2 separate regions of the Homo sapiens genome follow, and region 2 is linked to region 1. The links are contacts of gene promoters, found by promoter capture Hi-C in human tissues and cell types (Jung and others, 2019). All regions are on one chromosome and are shown on one strand. Each heading gives the region's core, a stretch centred on a gene start or on the middle of the fragment in contact. The rest is flanking DNA. Distances are from core to core; before and after follow the strand shown.

Region 1 (6,009 bases), core at 2,577-5,076:
AGACATACTAAGTAGAGAGAAAAATCAAGCAAAAAACCCAATTAAAGGCTAGTGAGTAGTTCAAAGATAAAAATGGCTGGCAAAAATCAGCCAATATTGTTACACGCATAGAGATAAAACCAAAGTTTGTGTCTGGGTAATTGAAAGCATGGTAATGTCACCAAAACAAAGTCAGCATATGGAATCAGTTTTGAAGGGAAGACTATAAATTCTATCTTCATTAGAGTTTAAGGTGAGGATCAGCCAGACATAAAGTTTCCTTAAATCTTTAAATGTCATATTTAGCCTTGTTGTCTTCCTAACATCACAGTATTTATAGAGAATTTGTTAACTGCTCAGTGATTTCAAAAGTTCCCTTCAATTTTACTTATTAATGAAATAATCATTTAATTTTCTAGTGCAGATAAAGAACATTTGGTATTTTTCTATATTATAAAGGTAAATTCTAAAAATTATTAAACCATGATTTTAAAAATGAACTGTATCTGTATTCATTAAGTCAAGTCTTCCTGACAAGTGATTTATAATAATCACATCAAATATACCTTCAGCTTTGAAAAACACATGGTGAAAAAGTAAAATAAGACAAAGTAAAAGTACAAAGCAATGAAAATGTAAAACTCTAGAAAATTTTTGAAAAATGAATATAGGCCAGCCACGGTGGCGCACACCTGTAATCTCAGCACTTTGGGAGGCGGAGGTGGGCAGATTGCTTGAGGTCAGGAGTTCGAGACCAGCCTTGCCAACATGGTGAAACTCCGTCTCTACTAAAAATACAGGCCGGGCGTGGTGGCTCATGCCTGTAATCCCAGCACTTTGGGAGGCCGAGGCAGGTGGATCACGAGGTCAGGAGTTCAAGACCAGCCTGGCCAAGATGGTGAAACCCTGCCTCTACTAAAAATACAAAAATTAGTCAGGCGTGGTGGCAGGCGCCTGTAATCCCAGCTACTGGGGAGGCTGAGGCAGAGAATTGCTTGAACCCGGCAGGCAGAGGTTGCAGTGAGCCAAGATCCCGCCACTGCACTCCAGCCTGGGCAACAGAGTGAGACTCCGTCTCAAAAAAAAAAACAAACAAAAGAAAAAGAAAAATATATATATATACAAAAAAATTAGCTAGGCATGGTGGCACACACCTGTAGTCCCAGCTACTTAGGAGGCCGAGGCACAAGAATCGATTGAACCCGGGAGGCAGAGGTTGCAGTGAGCCAAGATCGTGCCACTGCACTCCAGCCTGGGCAACAGAGACTCTGTCTCAAAAAAAAAAAAAAAAAAGAAAAGAAAAAAACCCAGAACCATGAAGTATCACTAAGTATCTCTTTTCTTTATTATTTTCCTTTTTAAATTTTTTTATATTTTCTTAATTTAGAGACAGGGTATCACTACATTGCTTAGGCTGATCTCAAACTCCTGGCCTCCAGCTATCCTCCCGCCTTGGCCTCCCAAGTGCTGGGATTACAGGCTTGAACTACCCCGCCTGGTCTCCCTCAGTATCTAACAAAACATTACACATAGGTTTTTTTTGTTTCTGTTTTTTTTTTGTGTGTGTGTGACGGAATCTTGCTCTGTTGCCAGGCTGGAGTGCAGTGGCGATCTTGGCTCACTGCAACCTCCGACTCCCGGGTTCATGCAATTCTCCTGCCTCAGACTCCCGAGTAGCTGGGATTACAGGTGCGTGCCACCACGCCCGGATAATTTTTGTATTTTCAGTAGAGACGCGGTTTCACCGTGTTGGCCAGGCTGGTCTCGATCTCCTGACCTCGTGATCCGCCTGCCTCGGCCTCCCAAAGTGCTGGGATTACAGGCGTGAGCCACCGAGCCCGGCCAACATTACACGTAGGTTTCAAATTTTATTTAGATGGACCTGAAAGCACTGCAGAAACCTGGACAAAGGATAATGCCTAGAAAAATAAATACACATTTTATTTATTTTTTTGAGACGGAGTCTCGCTCTGTCGCCCAGGCTGGAGTGCAGTGGCGCGATCTCGGCTCACTGCAAGCTCCGCCTCCCGGGTTCACGCCATTCTCCTGCCTCAGCCTCCCGAGTAGCTGGGACTATAGGCGCCCGCCACCACGCCCGGCTACTTTTTTGTATTTTTAGTAGAGACGGGGTTTCACCGTGTCTGCTAGGGTGGTTTCAATCTCCTGACCTCGTGATCCGCCCGCCTCAGCCTCCCAAAGTGCTGGGATTACAGGTTTGAGCTACCCCGCCTGGACTCCCTCAGTATCGAACAAAACATTACACGTAGGTTTCAAATTTTATTTAGATGGACCTGAAAGCACTGTCAAAACCTGGACAAAAGATAATGCCTAGAAAAATAAGTACACATTTTAAAATTTAATACATGAGCCAACAGCTGAGTAGATGTGAACACTCTGCAAACTATGTTTATGGATATTACAGCCAATTTCCACAGATCACAATTTTCCCAAAGAAGTCTCAGAGTTTGTGGTCAAGATGAAAAGAAAGCACCATTTATCAACCAGTGCATATTACTATCAAGTTGTGAATGGGATGCCTATTTAAGAATATCACAGACTCCACCCCCCACAAGAAAATTAAGTGTTTTAAAAAGAAAAGAACGAATATTATTGACAATTACCAAACAAAACTTTCTTCTTAGGTTATTTCTCCGTTTACTGTGTGACCTCGCCGAAGGCTGAGAGTCTAGGCACACTGGTTTCCAGGTGCTGAAGAAATCGTTATAGTTGGTTTGTCATACGTCTATCAAAGTAAAATTTTAAAAATGAGTACCTTTTGGCAACACCCGTTTTGGGAGGACATTGAGCTGCTTTGCTCCCTACCCAAAGAGGAGTTAGGAAATTCTCTTTAACCTAATTCTTTCCTAATTTCTAGGGCTTCTTACCTAATCTAACGTGCATAATTATTTTCAGGTGACTCCGGGTCCATCAGTTTGACACCGAGAGCGTTCCTACGGTTACGTCCTCACCCCTGAACAAAACCCAGCTTCCTGAGCTTCTAACGGCGAATTTAACTTGTATGTTAATACAGAAGAAAGGTTACAAAACCTATCGAAATGGTTTTTTGTTTTACCAAACATATTACAACTCAAGTCAAAAGTTCACAGCCCCAGCAACTCGCGTACGAATCTGAAGCAGGTCCAGACCATTAAAGTCACAGCCCCAGACTAGAAAACGGCCGGTGGGTGGGGGGAGGGGAGAGGGCGCGTCCCGAAGATGTCCACCCGCAGCACCGCGCAGGCTGACGCCTCCCCTCCTCTCGGGCTGGAGGTGAGAGCGCCCTTCCTCCTACCACGTCCCTACCTTCCCGGCCTCGGATTACGCCACAGCTGGCAAAAGGACTTTTTCATGAGAAAACAGACAAGTCAACCAGCGCGCCGCACACTCGACCTCCCAGGCTCGCACGGGCGGCCGCCCGGGCTCTCAGCCCGACACAGCGCTCCAGGGGCTGACAAGGAGGCCGCGGGGTCACGCTCCCTGGGGCAACGGCCCGAGGGTCTCGCGGAATCCCGGTGCAGAAGTCTGGACCCTCCGAGCAGCCTCCGCGCCCCCTCCGGCTCGGCTCCGAGCCTGCAGACGGCGCCCCCGGGGCTAACTCAGCGCGAGAAGAGGAAGCGACGCAGCGAGTAACAGGCTGTATGGACGGACAGCGGACTGAAGGGGGGTGTGTGTGTGTCTGCCTGCCAACAAGGCCGTCTCACCTTCCCGCTGCCGAGCCGGGCAGCTCCAGCTCACCTGAGGAGGGCTCCAGGACGCCACTGCGGCCGCCGTGATGGCCGTAACGGCACGAGGCCTGCGCTCCGCCGCCGCCGCGTAGCTCTTGGGAGAGAGGCGGGGCACGCGCGGTGGGCAGGCGGATCCGCGCGGGCAGGAAACCCACTCTGGACCCAATCTGATAGGTTCAGTCGCCCCCTTCCCCGGTCCCTGACGCGACAACGGTCTCTGCCGCACTGGGATTGGGCGGGCCCTCATGTCAATCAAGCGCCGTGCCTGATGTGGAGGGAGCGGAGGCTGCGCGGCGGAGAGTAGAGAGCTAGAGGGTGAGAAGCGCTGGGCCGGACCAGAACTGTCTTAGCTTTTCCCTCTGCGGCTGCTCTGGTTGGTTACTTTGAGCCTGCCTCCTCAGCGCCGCAGGAGAGACTTAACAGCAAAAATGACTGTGTCCTGAGTTCAGCCCCCACTGCTCTGGGAGCTTCCCCCTGGTTTCTGCACCTGAAGAATGTCATCCCAGCCGAAGGTTCTTAGGAGCGGGGAGCGACAAAGAAAAACAAAGAAAAGCAGACCTGAAAATTGGGACCTGGGAGAAATGTAAGACATGTGCTTAATTTGAGGCACAGACCAAAAGAAGCTGAGTCTGAGGGCCCTCTAAAAGTGTCCTCGTGCTTGGGCAGCTTACATTCTTGGCGGCAGTAGTGTTATGAAGAGGACCTTCGGAGCCAGGTCTGTCCATTCTTAGGGCTCCAGCCACTGGCTGAGGCATCAGTAAGTTGGTTCTTCCCCTCGCCGGTGCTGCAGGCCCCCTTCCCCGCCCCCGCGCCGTAACCTGCCTCTTTTTTTTTTTTTTTTGAAACGAGTTTCGCTCTGTCGCCAGGGTGGAGTGCAGTGGCACGATCTCGGCTCACTGCAACCTCCGCCTCCGGGTTCAAGCTATTCTCCTGCCTCAGCCTCCCGAGTAGCTGGGATTACAGGCATGTACCACCACGCCCAGCTAATGTTTTTGTATTTTTAGCAGTGACGGGGTTTCACCAGGATGGTCTCGATCTCTTGACCTCGTGATTCGCCAGCCTCGGCCTCCCAAAGTGCTGGGATTACAGGCGTGAGCCACCACGCCCAGCCGCCTCATCTCTTCTTAACCATCTTTGTGGCACAGTTTAGGATCGCTCCTCAGGGAAGCTTGCTCAGTTAGGTACCTTCCTTGGAGCACAGGTGTTTTCTCCATCCGAGCTATTGAAATGGTTTGCCTGTATGTCTACCTAGATTGTAAACTCCGTTGAATCAGTAACCATGTCTGTTCAGTTTCTCCCTAGGGCCTTGCAGTAGGGTAGATGGTCAGTAAATACTGTTTAAGGCATTAATACTTTTTATTTTAATCCTGGCCCTGGATATCAGCCTCAAAAGTTTGCAGTTTTCTGCATTTAACTTCAAAATTATTTACGTGATTGGTAATGCATGCATGTGGTTGGCCTGTGCTGTAATTTAGATGTTTGTTCCCCTAAACCTCCTGTTGAAATTTGATCCCCAATGTTGGAGGTGGGGACTAATGGGCAGTGTTGGGTCATGGAGGTGGTTCCTTCAGGAATAGATTAATGTCCTCCCTGGGGAGAGGGTAAATGAGTTCTCTTTATTTCCACCAGAGCTGGTTAAAAAGAACGTCGCACTTCCTTTCTTCTTTTGCGTCCTCTCTGGCCATGTAATCTCTGCACACACCAGCTCTCCTTTGCCTTCTGGCATGAGTAGAAGCAGTCTTAGGCTACCATCAGATGCAGATGCTCAGTCTTGAACTTTTCCAGACATCAGAACCATAAGCCGAAAAACCTTTTCTATTTCTAAATTATCCAGCTTTGGGTATTCCTTTCTAGCAACACTAAAGGGACTAAGACAGCCTGCCATATGTAGGATCACAAGGTCAAGCACAAATTTACCTATTTATGCTGTACTATCCTCAGGTTGACTGGGACAAGTAGACCATGAAACTGGGCAACAGCTACTCTATGTCTACATTCTGTTATTAGCATCCAAAGTGAATAATGGCGGTGAATTTTGAGTTTATTCTAAGGGTTTAAATAACTGCATATTTTATCATGACTGGTATGGACTGAATTGCATCCCCCCCAAAAATTCATACTGAAGCCCTCACTCCTAATGTGACTATATAAATGTTCCTTAACTTACAAAGGGGTTATGTTCCAATAAACCCACCATAAACTGAAAATACCTTAAGTTGAAAAGATCTTAAGTCAGAAATGCATTTAATGCTTCTAACCTACCAAACATCATAGCTTAGAGTAGCCTACCTAAAACATGCTCAGA
Region 2 (6,009 bases), core at 1,763-4,262, 140 kb before region 1:
ACCCTGTCTCAACAACAACAACAACAACAAAACCCTAACCTTCTTCCACCACAGAGCTCTGAGAATTATGACCTGGTCTGAGATGCTTTATGAACAGCACCTAGCATGGTGCCCAATACAGAGAGGATGTTCCATAAATGGGAGTCCCTTCCTTGCTCATATTTCAGGTTCCCGCCATCTTCTTTCAGTGGCCCCAGTACACAATCATTACTAGTTATAAACATGCAGACATCAACTTTTCAGGTGGACTCTCCCACCTATTACTCGCCTGCTCACCTCTGCCAAAATCTCTAGGTTCTTCTACAGTTATCTCTCTCGGCCCTTCTCCTCATCACTCCCAAGGGTACCATCTGGGCACAAATAGGCACAATGGTTTCCTCCACCTCAGTTCCTCAGGAGACATCAGCTTCATTGAGCCAGTCTCCCTTCATCCTTGTTTGCAAAGAGGCAGCCACAGAGGCTCACTCTTGGTGTCCATGGGCAAATGCCAACAGGAAGAGGCAACACACAGCAGCATTCACTAAGCGGGGGTGTTAGTGTGAAGCCCATTGGCTCGCTGCTGCTGGTGCAGTCAGATTCTCAGGACACTAACTCCCTACATCTGCAGTGGTCATACATGATCATTTTTTAAATTCCAGAACAGTGCTGTCCAATAGAAATATAATGTGAATCACATATGCAATTTTTAAAATCTCGTAGCACATTTTAAAAGTAAAAAGAAACAGGTGGAACTAATTTTAATAATATATTTTATTTAACAAATATATCCAAAATATTATCATTTTAACACGTCACTTAAAAAATGACTGAAATATTTTATATTCTTGTTTTATTCTGCCTTTAAAATCCATTCCATATTTTATATTTAAAATACATCTCAATTTGGACGAGCCACATTTCTACTGTCTAACAGATATGACTAGTGGCTACTGTATTAGACAGTGCAGTTCTAGCACATTAATGTAAAACAAACATCATAATCTCAGAATTTTGGAAGGTGCAAAACTGTGGTCCCACAGTTTAGAACTAATTTTCAAGCAAAGCTCAGCATATTTTATAAAATCGGAATCAGTTTTCAACATTTAAAAATCAAGAGATTTCTCATAAAAATCTAGATTTCTGGGCTTCTCATTTAAAACTTGGAGATCTGGCAGCACTGGCTCACACTTCCTCTTGGTAGCAACCTGCTGTCGCTGAGAAGATGAAACATATTTGCCATGATCCCCATCCCCCTCCCTATTGAGTTACATTCATTGCACTGCAAGTTCTTTCCTTTTGCTTTTTTTTCTTCTTTCCAGAGCCTGTGTGGACTCAGAGGCATCTGAGTTCACAAACTCCACTTTCTATGAAGCATGCAAGGTCATACTTGGACGGTTCATTGAAGAATTACTAATTTGGGACCATCTTTATGCTTGCTACCTACATTACAGCAGAATGTGACAGCAAGAAGAGAAAGAATAAAGTGAGTCACAGAAAGGAAACTGAGACCCTTCAGCACCAAAGCACCCATTCCCATGAAGCAAATACAGGTGCAAGACAAAGAAAATAAATTATATTTTTAAACAGAGACTATATACTGGGCAGAATTAATATAATTTTCCTTCCATATATAGTTTTGCTTTAGATTTTTACTTGGTGGGATTGCGTTCCAAGATGGCTGAATAGAAACACTCCAGTCTGCAGCCCCCAGTGTGAGCCATGCAGAAGATGGGTGATTTCTGCATTTCCAACTGAGGTACCTGGTTCATCTCATTGGGACTGGTTGGACAGTCGGTGCAGCCCACAGAGGGCGAGCTGAAGCAGGGCAGGGCATCGCCTTACCCGGGAAGCACAAGGGGCCAGGGGATTTCCCTTTCCTAGCCAAGGGAAGCCGTGACAGACTACCTGGAAAAATGGGGCACTCCCACCCAAATACTGTACTTTTCCCAAGGTCTTAGCAACTGGCAGACAAGGTGATTCTCTCTCGTGCCTGGCTCGGCAGGTCTCATGCCCATGGAGCCTTGCTCACTGCTAGCGCAGCAGTCTGAGATCAATCTGCGAGGTGGCAGCCTGGCTTGGGGAGGGGCATCTGCCATTGCTGAGGCTTGAGTAGGTAAACAAAGCAGCCAGGAAGCTCGAACTTGGCGGAGCCCACCACAGCTCAACAATGCCTACTGCCTCTAGACTCCACCTCTATGGACAGGGCATAGCTGAACAAAAGGCAGCAGACAACTTCTGCAGACTTAAACGTCCCTGTCTGACAGCTCTGAAGAGAGCAGTGGTTCTCCCAGCACAGCATTTGACCTCCGAGAACAGACAGACTGCCTCTTCAAGTGGGTCACTGACCCCCGTGTAGCCTAACTGGGAGACACCTCCCAGTAGGGGCTGACAGACACCTCATACAGGCAGGTGCCCCTCTGCGACAAAGCTTCCAGAGGAAAGATCAGGCAGCAATATTTGCTGTTCTGCAATATTTGCTGTTCTACAGCCCCCACTGGTGATACCCAGGCAAACGGTCTGGAGTGGACCTCCAGCAAACTCCAATAGACCTGCAGCTGAGGGACCTGACTGTTAGAAGGAAAACTAACAAACAGAAAGGAAGAGCATCAACATCAACAAAAAGGTCATCTACACCAAAACCCCATCTCTAGTCACCAACATCAAGACGAAAGGTACATATAACCACAAAGATGGGGAGAAACCAGAGCAGAAAAGCTGAAAATTCTAAAAATCAGAACACCTCTTCTCCTCCAAAGGATCACAGCTCCTCGCCAGCAATGGAGTAAAGCTGGATGGAGAATGACTTTGACGAGTTGACAGAAGTAGGCTTCAGAAGGTCGGTAATAACAAAATTCTCCAAGCTAAAGGAGGATGTTGGAACCCATCACAAGTAAGCTAAAAACCTTGAAAAAAGATTAGACAAATGGCTAACTAGAATAAACAGTGTAGAGAAGACCTTAAATGACCTGATGGAGCTGAAAACCATGGCACGAGAACTTCATGACGCATGCACAAGCTTCAGTAGATGATTTGATCAAGTGGAAGAAAGGATATCAGTCACTGAAGATCATATTAATGAAATAAAGTGAGAAAACAAGGTTAGAGAAAAAAGAGTTAAAAAAAAAAGTGAACAAAGCCTCCAAGAAATATGGGACTATGTGAAAAGACCAAATATATGTCTGATTGGTGTGCCTGAAAGTGTTGGGGAGAATGGAACCAAGTTGGAAAACACTCTGCAGGATATTATCCAGGAGAACTTCCCCAACCTAGCAAGGCAGGCCAACATGCAAATTCAGGAAATACAGAGAACACCACAAAGATACTCCTCAAGAAGAGCAACCCCAAGACACATAATTGTCAGATTCACCAAGGTTGAAATGAAGGAAAAAGTGTTAAGGGCAGCCAGAAAGAAAGGTCAAGTTACCCACAAAGGGAAGCCCATCAGACTAACAGCAGATCTCTTGGCAGAAATTCTACAAGCCGGAAGAGAGTGGTGGCCAATATTCAACATTCTTAAAGAAAAGAATTTTCAACCCAGAATTTCATATCCAGCCAAACTAAGCTTCATAAGTGAAAGAGAAATAAAATTCTTTACAGCCAAGCAAATGCTGAGAGATTTTGTCACCACCAGGCCTGCCTTACAACAGCTCCTGAAGGAAGCACTAAACATGGAGATGAACAACCAGTACCAGCCACTGCAAAAACATGCCAAATAGCAAAGACCATCGACGCTAGGAAGAAACTGCATCAACTAATGGGCAAAATAACTAGTTAACATCATAATGACAGGATCAAATTCACACATAACAATATTAACCTTAAATGTAAAAGGGCTAAATGCCCCAATTAAAAGACACAGACTGGCAAATTGGATAGAGTCAAGACCCATCAGTGTGCTGTATTCAGGAGACCCATCTGACATGCAAAGATGCACATAGGCTCAAAATAAAGGGATGGAGGAAGATCTACCAAGCAAATGGAAAGCGAAAAAAAAGCAGGGGTTGCAATCCTAGTCTCTGATAAAACAGACGTTAAACCAACAAAGATCAAAAGAGACAAAGAAGGCCATTACATAATAGTAAAAGGATCAATCCAACAAGAAGAGTTAGCTATCCTAAATATGTATGCACCCAATACAGGAGCACCCAGATTCATAAAGCAAGTCCTTAGAGAACTACAAAGAGACTTAGACTCCCACACAATAATAATGGGAGACTTTAACAGCCTACTGTCAATATGAGACAGATCAACGAGACAGAAGGTTAACAAGGATATCCAGGACCTGAACTCAGCTCTGCAACAAGCAGACCTAATAGACATCTACAGAACTCTCCACCCCAAATCAATAGAATACACATTCTTCTCAGCACCATATCGCACTTATTCTAAAATTGACCACATAAATGGAAGTAAAGCACTCCTCAGCAAGTAAAAGAAAAGAAATCACAACAAACTGTCTGTCAGACCACAATGCAATCAAATTAGAACTCAAGATTAAGAAACTCACTCAAAACCACACAACTACATGGCAACTGAACAACTTGCTCCTGAATGACTACTGGGTAAATAACGAAATGAAGGCAGAAATAAAAATGTTCTTTGAAACCAATGACAACAAAGACACAACGTAGCAGAATCTCCGGGACACATTTAAAGCAGTGTGCAGAGGGAAATTTATAGCACTAAATGCTCACAAGAGAAAGCAGGAAAGATCTAAAATTGACACCCTAACATCACAATTAAAAGAACTAGAGAAGCAAGAGCAAACACATTCAAAAGCTAGAAGAAGGCAAGAAATAACTAAGTTGAGAGCAGAACTGAAAGAGAGAGACACACAAAAAAACCCGTCAAAAAATAAATGAATCCAGAAGCTGGTTTTTTGAAAAGATCAACAAAACTGATAGACTGCTAGCAAGACTAACAAAGAAGAAAAGAGAGAAGAATCAAATAGACGCAACAAAAAATGATAAAGGGGATATCACCACCGATCCCACAGAAATACAAACTACCATCAGAGAATACTATAAACACCTCTACGCAAATAAACTAGAAAATCTAGAAGAAATGGATAAATTCCTGGACACATACACCCTCCCAAGACTAAACCAGGAAGAAGTTGAATCTCTGAATAGATCAATAACAGGCTCTAAAATTGAGGCAATAATTAATAGCCTAACAACCAAAAAAAGTCCAGGACCAGACGGATTCACAGCCGAATTCTACCAGCGGTACAAAGAGGAGCTGGTACCATTCCTTCTGAAACTATTCCAATCAATAGAAAAGGAGGGAATTCCTCCCTAACTCATTTTATGAGGCCAGCATCATCCTGATATCAAAGCCTGGCAGAGACATACACACAAAAAAGAGAATTTTAGACCAATATCCCTGAGGAATATCAATGCAAAAATTCTCAATAAAATACTGGCAAACCAAATCCAGCAGCACATCAAAAAGCTTATCCACCACGATCAACTCAGCTTCATCCCTGGGATGCAAGGCTGATTCAACATACACAAATCAATAAACATAATCCATCACATAAACAGAACCAAAGACAAAAACCACACCATTATCTCAATAGATGCAGAAAAGGCCCTTGACAAAATTCAACAGCCCTTCATGCTAAAAACTCTCAATAAACTAGGTACTGATGGAACGTAACTCAAAATAATAAGAGCTATTTATGACAAACCCACACCCAATATCATACTGAATGGGCAAAAACTGGAAGCATTCCTTTTAAAAACCAGCACAAGGATGCCCTCTCTCACCACTCCTATTCAACATAGTGTTGGAAGTTCTGGCCAGGCCAAGCAGGCAAGAGAAGGAAATAAAGGGTACTCAATTAGGAAATGAGGAAGTCAAATTGTTCCTGTTTGCAGATGACATGATTGTATATTTAGAAAACCCCATCGTCTCAGCCCAAAATCTCCTTAAGCTTATAAGCAACTTCAGCAAAGCCTCAGGATACAAAATCGATGTGCAAAACTCACAAGCATTCCTATACACCGTTAACAGACAGAGAGCCAA

The links. Contacts are between HindIII fragments. The study calls those that stand out against the background at their distance.
Region 2: a contact is called between a fragment that was not itself captured here and the fragment with the promoter of NCK1 in region 1, in 1 of the 25 tissues and cell types used here (H1 embryonic stem cells).

What each region holds. Positions count from the first base shown.
Region 1 is chr3:136,860,025-136,866,033 of GRCh38, reverse strand. NCK1 (NCK adaptor protein 1) reads right to left here and starts at 3,826. Exons shown (of 4, transcript NM_001291999.2): 1 at 3,681-3,826. It overlaps NCK1-DT (NCK1 divergent transcript), which reads left to right and starts at 3,971. Exons shown (of 3, transcript NR_110177.1): 1 at 3,971-4,287. RefSeq lists enhancers at 2,958-3,077, 3,088-3,167, 4,228-4,287, 4,848-4,897 and a silencer at 3,808-3,867. The HindIII fragment of the contact is 14,507 bases long and covers 1-5,463 here.
Region 2 is chr3:137,003,558-137,009,566 of GRCh38, reverse strand. All of the region lies in intron 6 of IL20RB (interleukin 20 receptor subunit beta), which reads right to left. Among named protein-coding and RNA genes, the nearest start is that of IL20RB-AS1, 24 kb to the right of the region's middle. RefSeq lists an enhancer at 2,005-2,506. The HindIII fragment of the contact is 5,327 bases long and covers 349-5,675 here.